Regions from separate parts of the Homo sapiens genome. Here all the other regions are linked to region 2. Evidence: promoter capture Hi-C in 16 types of primary human blood cells and fetal thymus (Javierre and others, 2016). All regions are on one chromosome and are shown on one strand. The core of a region is centred on a gene start or on the middle of the fragment in contact, and the rest is flanking DNA. Distances in the headings are between cores, read along the strand shown.

Region 1 (3,471 bases), core at 555-3,054, 170 kb after region 2:
CAGGAATGACAAGATCAAATATGAATGTTAGAAATAAAGTTCTAAGGGCTTAAATAAGGGTGACATGGAGAGAGCTAGCATTGCCAGTGGGGAACCAATGAGGAATTGCATGTTTGCACAGTGTGATCCCCCAGTTAAATAGTCTGGGTTGGGGAATTAAGCCAAACCAGGCCAATTAGAATTACTTCTCTAAGAATTTGGAATTGGGAGACAAAGAGCTACATCTCTGCTCAGACTTAAATTGGACTTAAGGGTAATTTGGGAGCTATGCAGTAGTCATCTTCTACTTGCCCATTTGGCCTGAGCAGCATTGAAAACCAGTTTGCTGAGAAAGAAGATCAATCAGTTGCACACAGAGAAGCAAGTCTAGACACAAAAAGACTGCTCCCTAGGTTCTTGGGACCTTCCAGCAGCTGGTTCCACTTCTTTCTGAGGCCCAGCAGGATTCCTTCCCCAGGATCATGATGCATCCTTCTATCCATTCATAGGAATCTCATTTTTGGCTTCAGCGAGTGTGGGTTACTTCCTGTTGTTTGTGTTAAAGAATAACTTTCAAAAAGGTAAAATAATGAGCCTTATGCAAGTATTTTTATTTTTTATTTTTTGAGACAGGTTCTCTGTTACCCAGGCTGGAGTGCAGTGGTGCGATCATGGCTCACTGCAGCCTCGACTTCCGGGCTTCAGCGATCCTCCCACCTCAGCCTCCAGAGTAGCTGGGACTAAAGATATTTTTTGCATTTTTGGTAGAGACAGGGTTTTGCCATGTTACCCAGGCTGGTCTTGAACTCCTGAGCTCAAGCAATCCACCCGCCTCCACCTCTTAAAGTGCTGGGATTACAGACATGAGCCACTGAGCCTGGCAGAGCCTTATACAAATATACAATGAACATATTTCAAATTTTTTATTTAACTAATGAGGGAACCAGTAAGATACTAAAACCAGTTCAAATGAAGATTTGACTTAGAAATGTCTTTTCTCTAATGGACAAAATTTATTTGCATCACCCAGAACAGGAATCGTTTGCACTGTTATGGGCAGAAAATCTTTTGTATTATTTATTGTCAGTATTCTGAAGTTAACTTCTAACTCCAACGAGTTAGAAAATAGCTTACTTGTAAAATAGGAACCTAGTCAAAGGAAATCAAAGGCTCTCACCGCTAATATAATCAAATAATTCCCAAAGATTCTTAACAGCACCCAACATTCCATTAAAAAGACACCCATTTCAAAGTATTTCTTAAGTTTTCCAGACACTTGCAAATCAAAGAATATACGAAAACACAGAGACATAAGAAAGCATGATGCTGGCCGGGTGCGGTGTCTCACACCTGTAATCCCAGCACTTTGGGAGGCCAAGGCAGGCACATCACCTCAGATCAGGAGTTCAAGATCAGCCTGGCCAACATGGTGAAACCCCGTCTCTACTAAAAATACAAAAATTAGTTGGGCATGCTGGCAGGTGCCTGTAATCCCAGCTACTCAGGAGGTTGAGGCAGGAGAATCGCTTGAACCCGGGAGGTGGAGGTTGCAGTGAGCTCAGATTGCACCATTGCACTCCAGCCTGGGTAACAAGAGCGTAACTCCATCTCAAAAACAAACAAACAAAGAGGCTGGGCACGGTGGGTCATGCCTGTAATCCCAGAACTTTGGGAGGCAAAGGTGGGTGGATCACCTGAGGTCAGGAGTTCGAAACCAGCCTGACCAACATGGTGAAAAGCCCACCTCTACTAAAAATACAAAATTAGCCAGGCATGGTGGCACATGCCTGTAATCCCAGCTACTTGCCTCTCTGAGGCAGGAGAACTGCTTGAACCTGGGAGGTGGAGGTTGCAGTGAGCCGAGATCACACCATTGCACTCCAGCCTGGGCAACAAGAGTGAAACTCTGTCTCAAAAAAAAAAAAAAAAACAAAGAAAGCATGATGCCTTAGGGAAACTCAAGTAGTATGGGCATTAGTTAAGCATGGGCAAAGTGTAGGAGGGAGGCAACAGCAAGATTAGGAAGGGCCTTGTATGTGTGTTTGGGAGTTTGGATTTTATTTTCTTGAGATGGAGTCTTGCTCTGTCACCCCAGGTGGAATGCAGTGGTGTGATCTCGGCTCACTGCAACCTCTGCCTCCTGGGTTCAAGTGATTCTCCTGCCTCAGCCTCCCGAGTAGCTGGGATTACAGGAGCCCGCCACCACGCCCAGTTTCACCATGTTGGCCAGGCTGGTTTTGTACTTCTGACCTCAGGTGATCTACCCGCCTCAGCCTCCCAAAGTGCTGGGATTACAGGCATGAGCCACCATGCCCAGCTAAGTTTGGATTTTATTCTGAAGGCTGTTGGCACTATTATTTCATGCAGGGGAGTGATGTGAACATATCTGAGCTTTAGAAATCTCACTTCAGTAGGAGTGTGGATATTGAATTACAGGAAGGTAATCAATCAACCAGTTAGGAGATTGATAATTATGATGAGAACTGAAAGAGTCTGAATTAGGGCAGTGGCTGAAGGCTTAGATAAGAGGAGATAGATTCAAGGATGATTTAGGGTATAGAAATCTGTAGAATTTAGTGATTAATTGAATGTGTCATGGGGGTGGGTGGGGTAACATACAGCAAATAGTCTTGAATGACTCCCAGGATCCTCCAAATGATGTGTCTTTTCCAAAACGCTTTTCATGAATCTTAGAAGATTTGGTAGATAATTTGGAGCTGGAATCACAGGGATATGTTGGGGCTAGGACAGTGTTCCTTGTTCATTTCTTTGGGGCACCACGAACTGCGCCTATAGAAGATGCCAAACTTAATAAATGCCTGTTCTGACTGCTCCACCAACCCGTCATTCCCATCTTTACCTCTCCTCAGGCCTCCCTATTCCCTGAGACACAACAATATTGAAATCAGGCCAATTAATAACCCTAAATGGCCTCTAAGTGTTCAAGTGAAAGGAAGAGTCACATATCTGTCACTTGAAATAAAAAGCTAGAAACGATTAAGATTATTGAGGAAGGCATGTCGAAAGCCAAGACAGGCTGAAAGCTAGGCCTCTTATACCAGTTAGCCAAGTTGTGAATGCAAAGGAAAAGTTATTGAAGGAAATTAAAAGTGCTATTCCAGTGAACACACAAATAAGAAAGCAAAACAGCCTTATTGCAGATACAGAGAAAGTTTGAGTGGTCTGTATAGAAGCTGAAACCAGCCACAGTATTCCCTTAAGCCAAAACCTAATCCAGAGCAAGGCCCTAACTCTCTTCAATTCTATGAAGGCTGGGGAAGAAGTTACAGAAGAAAAGTTGGATGCCAACAGAGGTGGGTTCATGAGGTTTACAGAAAGAAGTCGTCTCTATAACATAAAAGTACAAGGTGAAGGAACAAGTGCTGATGCAAAATGTACTTAGTGAATGGTCCTTTTTAGTAGCAACCAGTACTTGTCACTTTAAGTTTCGCTTTAGTAGTTAAAGTGATTTAATGAAATAATTTTTAAAAA
Region 2 (3,946 bases), core at 1-2,500:
GGCTCATGCCTGTAATTCCAGCACTTTGGGAGACCGAGGTGGGCAGGTTGCTTGAGGTCAGGAGTTGAGACCAGCCTGGCAACACAGGGAGACCTATCTCTACAAAAAATGAACTAGATTAGCTGGGTGTGGTGGCACATGCCTGTAGTCCTAGCTGCTTAGGTGGCTGAGATGGGAGGATCACTTGAGCCCGGGAGATCGTCAAGGCTGCAGTGAGCTGAGATTGTGTTACTGCACTCCAACCTGGGAGACAAAGTAAGACCCTGTCTCAAAAAAAATATAAAACTTAGATCCATAAAATATTTTTCAGGGAGGATAATTTTATCACTGATTTTTTTTTTCAGAATTTCTGGAACATGGTGATAATAAGAGGACTGATTTTTATTTTTTAAATTCTCTACAGACAATGCACCCCCTTATTGCCTGCAACTCAAGGGGCAGGACTTCTGCCATCCCTATTGTTGGCATGCCACTGCACTGATTTTAAACTTTTAAAAAATGTTGTATGGGCTAGACAAAACACATCTCTGACTTCTGGTCTCAGGTTTATATTTGCAACTTAAAATCCCTCTTCCTACATCAATAGCCTTGCACGTGATGGAGTTAGCTCTAGGTATGGCAGGTACTACACCCGCTGAAGTGAACATGTGCAAGATAGGGCTCAGTTTCCCAGGACAGTCCTACAGCAAAGAGTTTTAAAATGCAATTAATTATTGAGAGTGACAGTTCTTACAGACAGTTTGGATGAAGTGGGTTGAAAGGGGAGGTTTGGGGGTGTCCCCCAAATTATAATGCCCCCAATGAAACAATAACAAGCATCATCTAAACACATATCCTCTCAGATCAGCCTTAGGGTGTGATGGGATCAGAGGTACCAGGAGGCTCCCCCGACCCTTCCACTTTATACCATACTCATTGAGGAATACATCTTTCTTCTGGGACCAGAGTCAGGGAGGAAGGTGGGCATCCTGGAGCAGAAGGGGTGTTCCTGTCCTTGTTAGTCCTGCTTCACACCACTTCTGCCCCCACCCCCCGCCCTCAGAGTCCTCAGGGACTCAACTGCCCGTGGCACATTACCCACAGGCCTGCTTCTCTTCTCAAGGGGGGCAAAGGGCCTGGGCAGCGAGGGTGGGGGAAGCTCAGGAGCTGCAGGAGTGGCGCAGGTGCAGGCACAGGGCGGGGTCTTTGTTCTTTTTTTCATCCCTCCCCTCCCCCTTCCTCCCCGGAAACCAGAGACTTTGCCACCACCAGTATTGGGGATGCTGAGCTGCGGGGTACGGGCCTGAGGAGGGATGGGAGTAAGAAGTGCTGTGGAAACCGTCAGGCCATGAACCAGGCTGACCCTCGGCTCAGAGCAGTGTGCTTGTGGACTCTCACATCTGCAGCCATGAGCAGAGGCGACAACTGCACGGATCTACTCGCACTGGGTGAGCTGGGCAGGGCAGGGGCTGGTGGGGGAGGGGTCATGTGGCCCCAGGTCCCACCTGCTGGGCCCTGGGGGTGGGGCGGGGCTGTTACACCCCCCTTCCTTTCACATCCACAGGAATCCCCTCCATAACCCAGGCCTGGGGACTGTGGGTCCTCTTAGGGGCTGTGACGCTGCTATTTCTCATCTCGCTGGCTGCACACTTGTCCCAGTGGACCAGGGGCCGGAGCAGGAGCCATCCGGGGCAGGGACGGTGGGTGAAGGACAACAGGGATGGGTTGACTGAGAGTTCTCTCTTACCGAGAAGTCCCCACTCATCCCCTAAACTCTGCGTTGCAGCTCTGGAGAGTCTGTGGAAGAGGTCCCGCTGTATGGGAACCTGCATTATCTACAGACAGGTAGGGAGCTGGCAGAGAGGAGGGGCACAGAGGCCAGGTCCTGGGTGGCTGGGATGGGGGCGTGCAGGAGGAAGGACAAGTTGCTGACCAGATTCCTGTTCCCCGTCCCAGGACGGCTGTCTCAAGACCCAGAGCCAGACCAGCAGGATCCAACTCTTGGAGGCCCTGCCAGGGTGAGTCAACTGTGGCTGGAGAAAAGGGGGAGGGAAGGAAGTGGGGGGCTTTTCGGGCTTTTCCGAGGGTCCAGTGAACTTCTAACAGCCTTGCATCTCCAGGCTGCAGAGGAGGTGATGTGCTATACCAGCCTGCAGCTGCGGCCTCCTCAGGGTCGGATCCCCGGTCCTGGAACCCCCGTCAAGTACTCGGAGGTGGTGCTGGACTCTGAGCCAAAGTCCCAGGCCTCGGGCCCCGAGCCGGAGCTCTATGCCTCAGTATGTGCCCAGACCCGCAGGGCCCGGGCCTCCTTCCCGGATCAGGCCTATGCCAACAGCCAGCCTGCAGCCAGCTGAGATGGAGGGCCTGGCACAGCGGGGCGTGCACTGCCCCAGCCCCCCGTAGCAGGGGCATGACTGTTTCCCAACCAGCACCCAAAGACGGGCGCCATTGCCAAGTCACAGGATGTGATCTACCCCGGACTTCCTATCTGAGCTTCAAGGGAGACATCTCAGGGCAAAGCTTTCGTGATGGAGGAGGCAAAGACAGTAGCCCCCTCCTTATTTCTTTTTTCTATCTGTTCCTCTTAGCCCCCAAACTCCCAGGTTCTCACTTCCTTCTTCTGGAGTTTAACCAGATCCTCCCCACCCCCGCTCCCTCATAGTCTACCCCCACGCCTCAGTGTCTCCTCAGGCACAGGAAGTGGGCGGTGGGGGAGGGGTAAGGGCCTGACAGTGGGTGGGTGGGTATATTCCTCAGGAGTCCACAGACTGGAGTGGACCTGGAACTTAGAGACGGGAGGGACCCGAGCCTGGCTTTTGACCTAAGAACCCTAGCAGGAGAATACAGTCTCCATCCTGCTGTCTCTGTCCTGTCCCCAAGTTTTCAAATAAAACTTTCCAAAAAGTGTTTAGATTTTTACCTAGAAGGCTGAAGACTTGCAAAGGGCCCTGCAGATGGGGGTGTGAGCTTTGCTGTCTGCACGGAGCTCTTTCTGGGGGTGCCTAGCTGGGGATGAGGGGCCAAGAGGGGCTGCGGCATCAACAGTGCAGAGGTGGGCACCGGGGTGGAGGGCCAGAGCCCAGCTCCTCAGCTGCTGTTGCTGCTGCTAGAACACCCCTGGGATCTGCACTCAGAGCCACTGCATTCCCCCTGGGGCTGCAAGCTCACAGTCCTGAGCTACTCTCCCCTTGACCTCTATAACTGCCATCACCTCCACAACCTGCCAGCCTGGTTCCTTCATCAAGTCCTCCAATCTGACCTCCGTCTGTCCGCTATGAGTCCCACCTATACCCCTGTTTTGACATCAGTAGCCTTATCTGCACTTAGTCATCGTATACCCCTAGAGGCCTTCTCCTTACCCCATCACTATGGCAGCGGTCCATCTCCACTCACTCTCTCCCACTCTGGCCTCCCAAAGTGCTGGGATTACAGGCATGAGCCACCGTGCCTGGCCTTCACTCTCTCAGTTGTCACCTGCAGTCTTGGCAACAGTTTTGCTTGTCACCACTTTCATTTTAATCCCCATCTAATTTGTCCTGCCTGTCCACCCATCACCTGCTGATTCTTAACCCCAGCCTCCTACCCCATATAGCATGCTACATCAGCCAGTTGGCACAGAGATTAGGACTCTGGGCTCAGGAGCCGGACTGCCTGCATTCAAATTCCATGTCTACCACTTACCAGCTGTGTGTTCTTGGGCAACTGTGCCTCGGTTTCTGAATCTGTAAGATTGAGAGGATATTAACGGTGTTTACTTCAAAAAAAGGTGGTTGTGAGGCTGAATGAGTTACCATTTGTAAAGCACTTAGACAATAAATGCTCAATAATGCTAGGCATTATTAAAATAAGAGAAATACAGGATCCTCTATGGGAGCTCATAGGTGAAGTGACTTCTAGGTAGAGACATGACACATAGTAGGAATCTGCCAGGAGAAGCGAAGGACAGAAAATGCTCCAAGGCAAAGGG
Region 3 (3,850 bases), core at 130-2,629, 230 kb before region 2:
TTACTTATCCTACCTCACTCACTCAATAAGTAAATTCCAGATAAAATAAAAGTTAAATTGAAAAGTAAAACTTTTAAATCATTAGAAGAAAATACAGAAAGGCGAATGTACTTAAAACCTTGGGGATATTACACAAGAGACAACGAAAAAGAAATTTGCTACCCCAAATAATTAAACTTCTATGTAACAAAAGATATCATACACAAATAAAAAAGGTAACTGACATAAAATGTTTGCCACATATATAATACACAAAGAAATACTATAGAGACTATATAAAGAATTTCTAGAAATCATTATTTTCAAAATTAGAAAAATGAGCATAAAATATGAAGAGATAATCAACAGAAAAAAATTTTAATGGCAAAAAATGACAAATAGAATTATTATTAACATTTTTAGTGATCAGGGAAATGTAAAATAAAACAGCAAGATATCCTTTTTCACCCATTGTAATACAAAATTTAAAAGACTGAGGCCAGGTGAGGTGGCTCAAGCCTGTAATCCCTGAACTTTGGGAGGCTGAAGGGGGAGGATCACTTGAGATCAGGCATTCAAGACCAGCCTAGGCAAATAACAAGACTCCATCTCTAAAAAAAAATTAAAATAATCATCAGGGTGCGCTGGCATGCTCCTGTAGTCCTGCTTACTCGGGAAGCTGAGACATGCGGATCACTCACGCCCAAGAGTTCAAGGTTACAGTGAGCTATGATTGCACCACTGCGCTACAGCCTGGGCAACAAAGCAAAATTCCATCTCTTTAAAAGTTTAATTTAATTTAATTTTAACTTAAAAATAAAAAATAAAAGACTGATAACACCCAGTATCAGTCAGGATATGGAGAAATGGGTACTGTTATATTCTTGGTGGAGATTTAAATTAAGACAACATTTCTGAGGGCAATTTAGGGCATCTTTCAACAATTTAAATAAACATACCTTCAATCCAATAACTTCCTGTCAAAATATCTATCCTAGAGAAGTATCTGTACATGTGCCAAAGAGTCATGTAAAATGATATGATTTGCAGCATTGTTTGCATGGCCAAAGAAAACATGAGATACAACCTAAATGTCTAACAACAGGAAATACTCAAATAAGCTATAATATATTCACACAATAGAATATTACATATAACTTACAAAGAAACAATTATATAAAAATATCTACGGTCGGGCGCGGTGACCCACACCTGTAATCCCAGCACTTTGGGAGGCCGAGGCAGGTGGATCACCTGAGGTCAGGAGTTTGAGACCAGCCTGACCAGCATGGTGAAACCCCGTCTCTACTAAAAATACAAAAATTAGCTCGGTGTGGTGGTGCATGCCTGTGGTTCCAGTTACTTGGGAGGCTGAGGAGAATCGCTTGAACCTGGGAGCCGGAGGTTGCAGTGAGTCGAGATCACGCCACTGCACTCCAGCCTGGGCACCAAGAGTGAAACTCCATTCTCTCTCTCTCAATCTCTCTCTCTCTCTCTCTCTCTATGTATATATATATATGTGTATGTGTGTGTGTGTGTGTGTGTGTATATATATGTATATATGTGTGTATATATATGTATACATATATTATATATGTGCATATACATATGTGTATATATGTATACACATATGTATATATGTGTACATACACATTTACATATATATACACAAGACATGGTATATTGTTAAAAGCAAGCCTCACATATTAAAGAAAGACACAGAAGATTTTTAAAGACCCAAATAAAACTTTTAAAAATAAAAAAATACAATTTTTGAGATTAAAAAAAAATCAAATGGATGAATGCAACATGATATCCTGGATTGGATCCAGGAACAGAAAAAGGATATTTGTGGGAAAACTGGGAAAATTTGAATAAAGCCTGTAGTTTAATTAATAGTGCCAATTATGTTTAGTTAATAGTGCCAATTATGTTTAGTTGTGTCACTGCTAATTTCTGAGTTTTGATGAACATTTCATGGCTATATAAGATGTTCACATTAGGAGAAGTTGGTTGAAAGTTATTCAGGAAATCTACATCCTATCTTTAGAACTCTTCTGCCAATCTAAGATTATTTCAAAATTTAAAACAAATTTCAAATATATTAGATGGAATTAATAGCAGACTAGAACCTACAGCAGAAAATATTAGTAAACTTGATACCATAGCAATATACATTAACCAAAATAAAATACACAAAAATATAAATAAATAAAATATCAGTGAGCTTTGGGACTTCAAGTAGCCTAATATAGGTACAACTAGAATCTCAGGAAAAGAAGCAATGGACAGAAAAAAAATGATCAAAATTTTTCTACACTTAAAAAAACCTACAAAATCATAGATCCAAAAACCTCAACAAAGCCCAAGCAGAAGAACAAGAAGACAGCTACAAAATCATAGATCCAAGAATCTCAACAAAGCCCAAGCAGAAGAACATGAAGACAGCTACACCAAGGCATATTATAATACTATTGCTTTAATCAGCGGTAAAGAGAACATCTTAAAAGCAATCATAGAAAAAGACACGTTATATACAGAGGAACAAACAAGAATGACAGCAGTCATTGTCAGAAACAATGCAAGCCAGAAGACAGTAGCGCAATATCTTCAAAATGGTAAAAGGAAAATTAAACTGTCAGAATTCTATACTAAGCAAAATACCTCTCAATACTGAAGTTAAATAAAAATATTTTCAGACATACAAAATTTGAAAGATTTTATTACCAACAGTCCAGATCTATAAGAATGTTAAAAGAAGTCCTTCAGGTGGAAGAAAAATGTTATCAGAAGAAAATACCTATCTATACCAGGCAATAAAGAGCCCTAGAAATGGTGAATATGTGAATAAATATAAAATATTTTTACTCTAATTTTTAAACCTTTTAAAACATAGCTTGGATGTGGCCAATAGGAAGCTAATAATTTTTTTAAAGGAAGGAATATATGGCATAGTTGACTATTGGAAGCAAAAGTAATAAGGTATTATAGAATTTTAACAGATGTGGAATTACAATATATAACAACAATAGCTCAAAACCCAGATGAGGGGAAGTGAAAGGGCATTGTTGCGACATTTATATACTATAGGTGAGGTGGTATTACATTAATTAAAGGTAGATTAAAAGAGGAACAAATAACAGATGGAACAATAGAAAACAAACAGCCAGATGAAATATTTAAATCCAACTATGTCCCTGGTCATTTTTAATGCAATTGGTCTAAGCATCTAAATTAAAGGGCAGAGATTGTCTGATTAAATTTTTAAAGATCCGGCCGGGCACAGTGGCTCACGCCTGTAATCCCAGCACTTTGGGAGGCCGAGGCAGGCAGATCACGAGGTCAGGAGATTGAGACCATCCTGGCCAACATGGTGAAACCCCGTCTTTACCAAAAATACAAAAATTAGCTGGGCCTGGTGGCACGTGCCTGTAATCCCAGCTACTCAAAGGAGGCTGAGGCGGGAGAATGGTGTGAACCCAGGAGGCAGAGCTTGCAGTGAGCCGAGATCACACCACTGCACTCCAGCCTGGCGACATAGCAAGGCTCCATCTCAAAAAAAAAAAAAAAAAAAATTAAAGCTCCAATTCTATATTAATAGCAGACAAAGTAGATATTAGAGCAAAAACATTAACAGGGATAAAGAGGGTCATTTGAAAATGACAAAGATGTCAGTTCATCAAGATAACATAACAGTCCTAAAAGCTTATATATCTAATGACAGAGCCTCAAAATACATAAAGCAAGACCTGATAGAACTGAAAGGAGGAATAGACAAATCTGTAATTGCAGCCAAAGATTTCAACATCCCTGTCTCAGTAGTTGAAAAATAAGTAGACAGAAAATTAGTAAGAATATAGGAGACTTGGAC

What was found. The method cuts DNA at HindIII sites, captures the fragments that hold promoters and counts their contacts. A CHiCAGO score of 5 or more calls a contact.
Region 1: a fragment that was not itself captured here is called in contact with the fragment with the promoter of SIT1 in region 2 in 3 of 17 cell types (M0 macrophages, M2 macrophages and M1 macrophages); the score reaches 7.1 in M0 macrophages.
Region 3: a contact is called between a fragment that was not itself captured here and the fragment with the promoter of SIT1 in region 2, in 1 of 17 cell types (naive B cells). The highest score is 5.3, in naive B cells.

Annotation. Positions count from the first base shown.
Region 1 is chr9:35,483,728-35,487,198 of GRCh38, reverse strand. No RefSeq gene overlaps it. Among named protein-coding and RNA genes, the nearest start is that of RUSC2, 4.6 kb to the left of the region's middle. The HindIII fragment of the contact is 7,851 bases long and covers 1-3,471 here.
Region 2 is chr9:35,648,235-35,652,180 of GRCh38, reverse strand. It overlaps SIT1 (signaling threshold regulating transmembrane adaptor 1), which reads left to right and starts at 1,250. Exons shown (of 5, transcript NM_014450.3): 1 at 1,250-1,427; 2 at 1,544-1,679; 3 at 1,766-1,824; 4 at 1,936-1,997; 5 at 2,100-2,886. The coding sequence starts at 1,328. The coding sequence ends at 2,333. RefSeq lists a silencer at 1,470-1,539 and an enhancer at 2,450-2,499. The HindIII fragment of the contact is 5,575 bases long and covers 1-2,501 here.
Region 3 is chr9:35,877,928-35,881,777 of GRCh38, reverse strand. No RefSeq gene overlaps it. Among named protein-coding and RNA genes, the nearest start is that of OR13J1, 9.5 kb to the right of the region's middle. The HindIII fragment of the contact is 4,615 bases long and covers 1-3,686 here.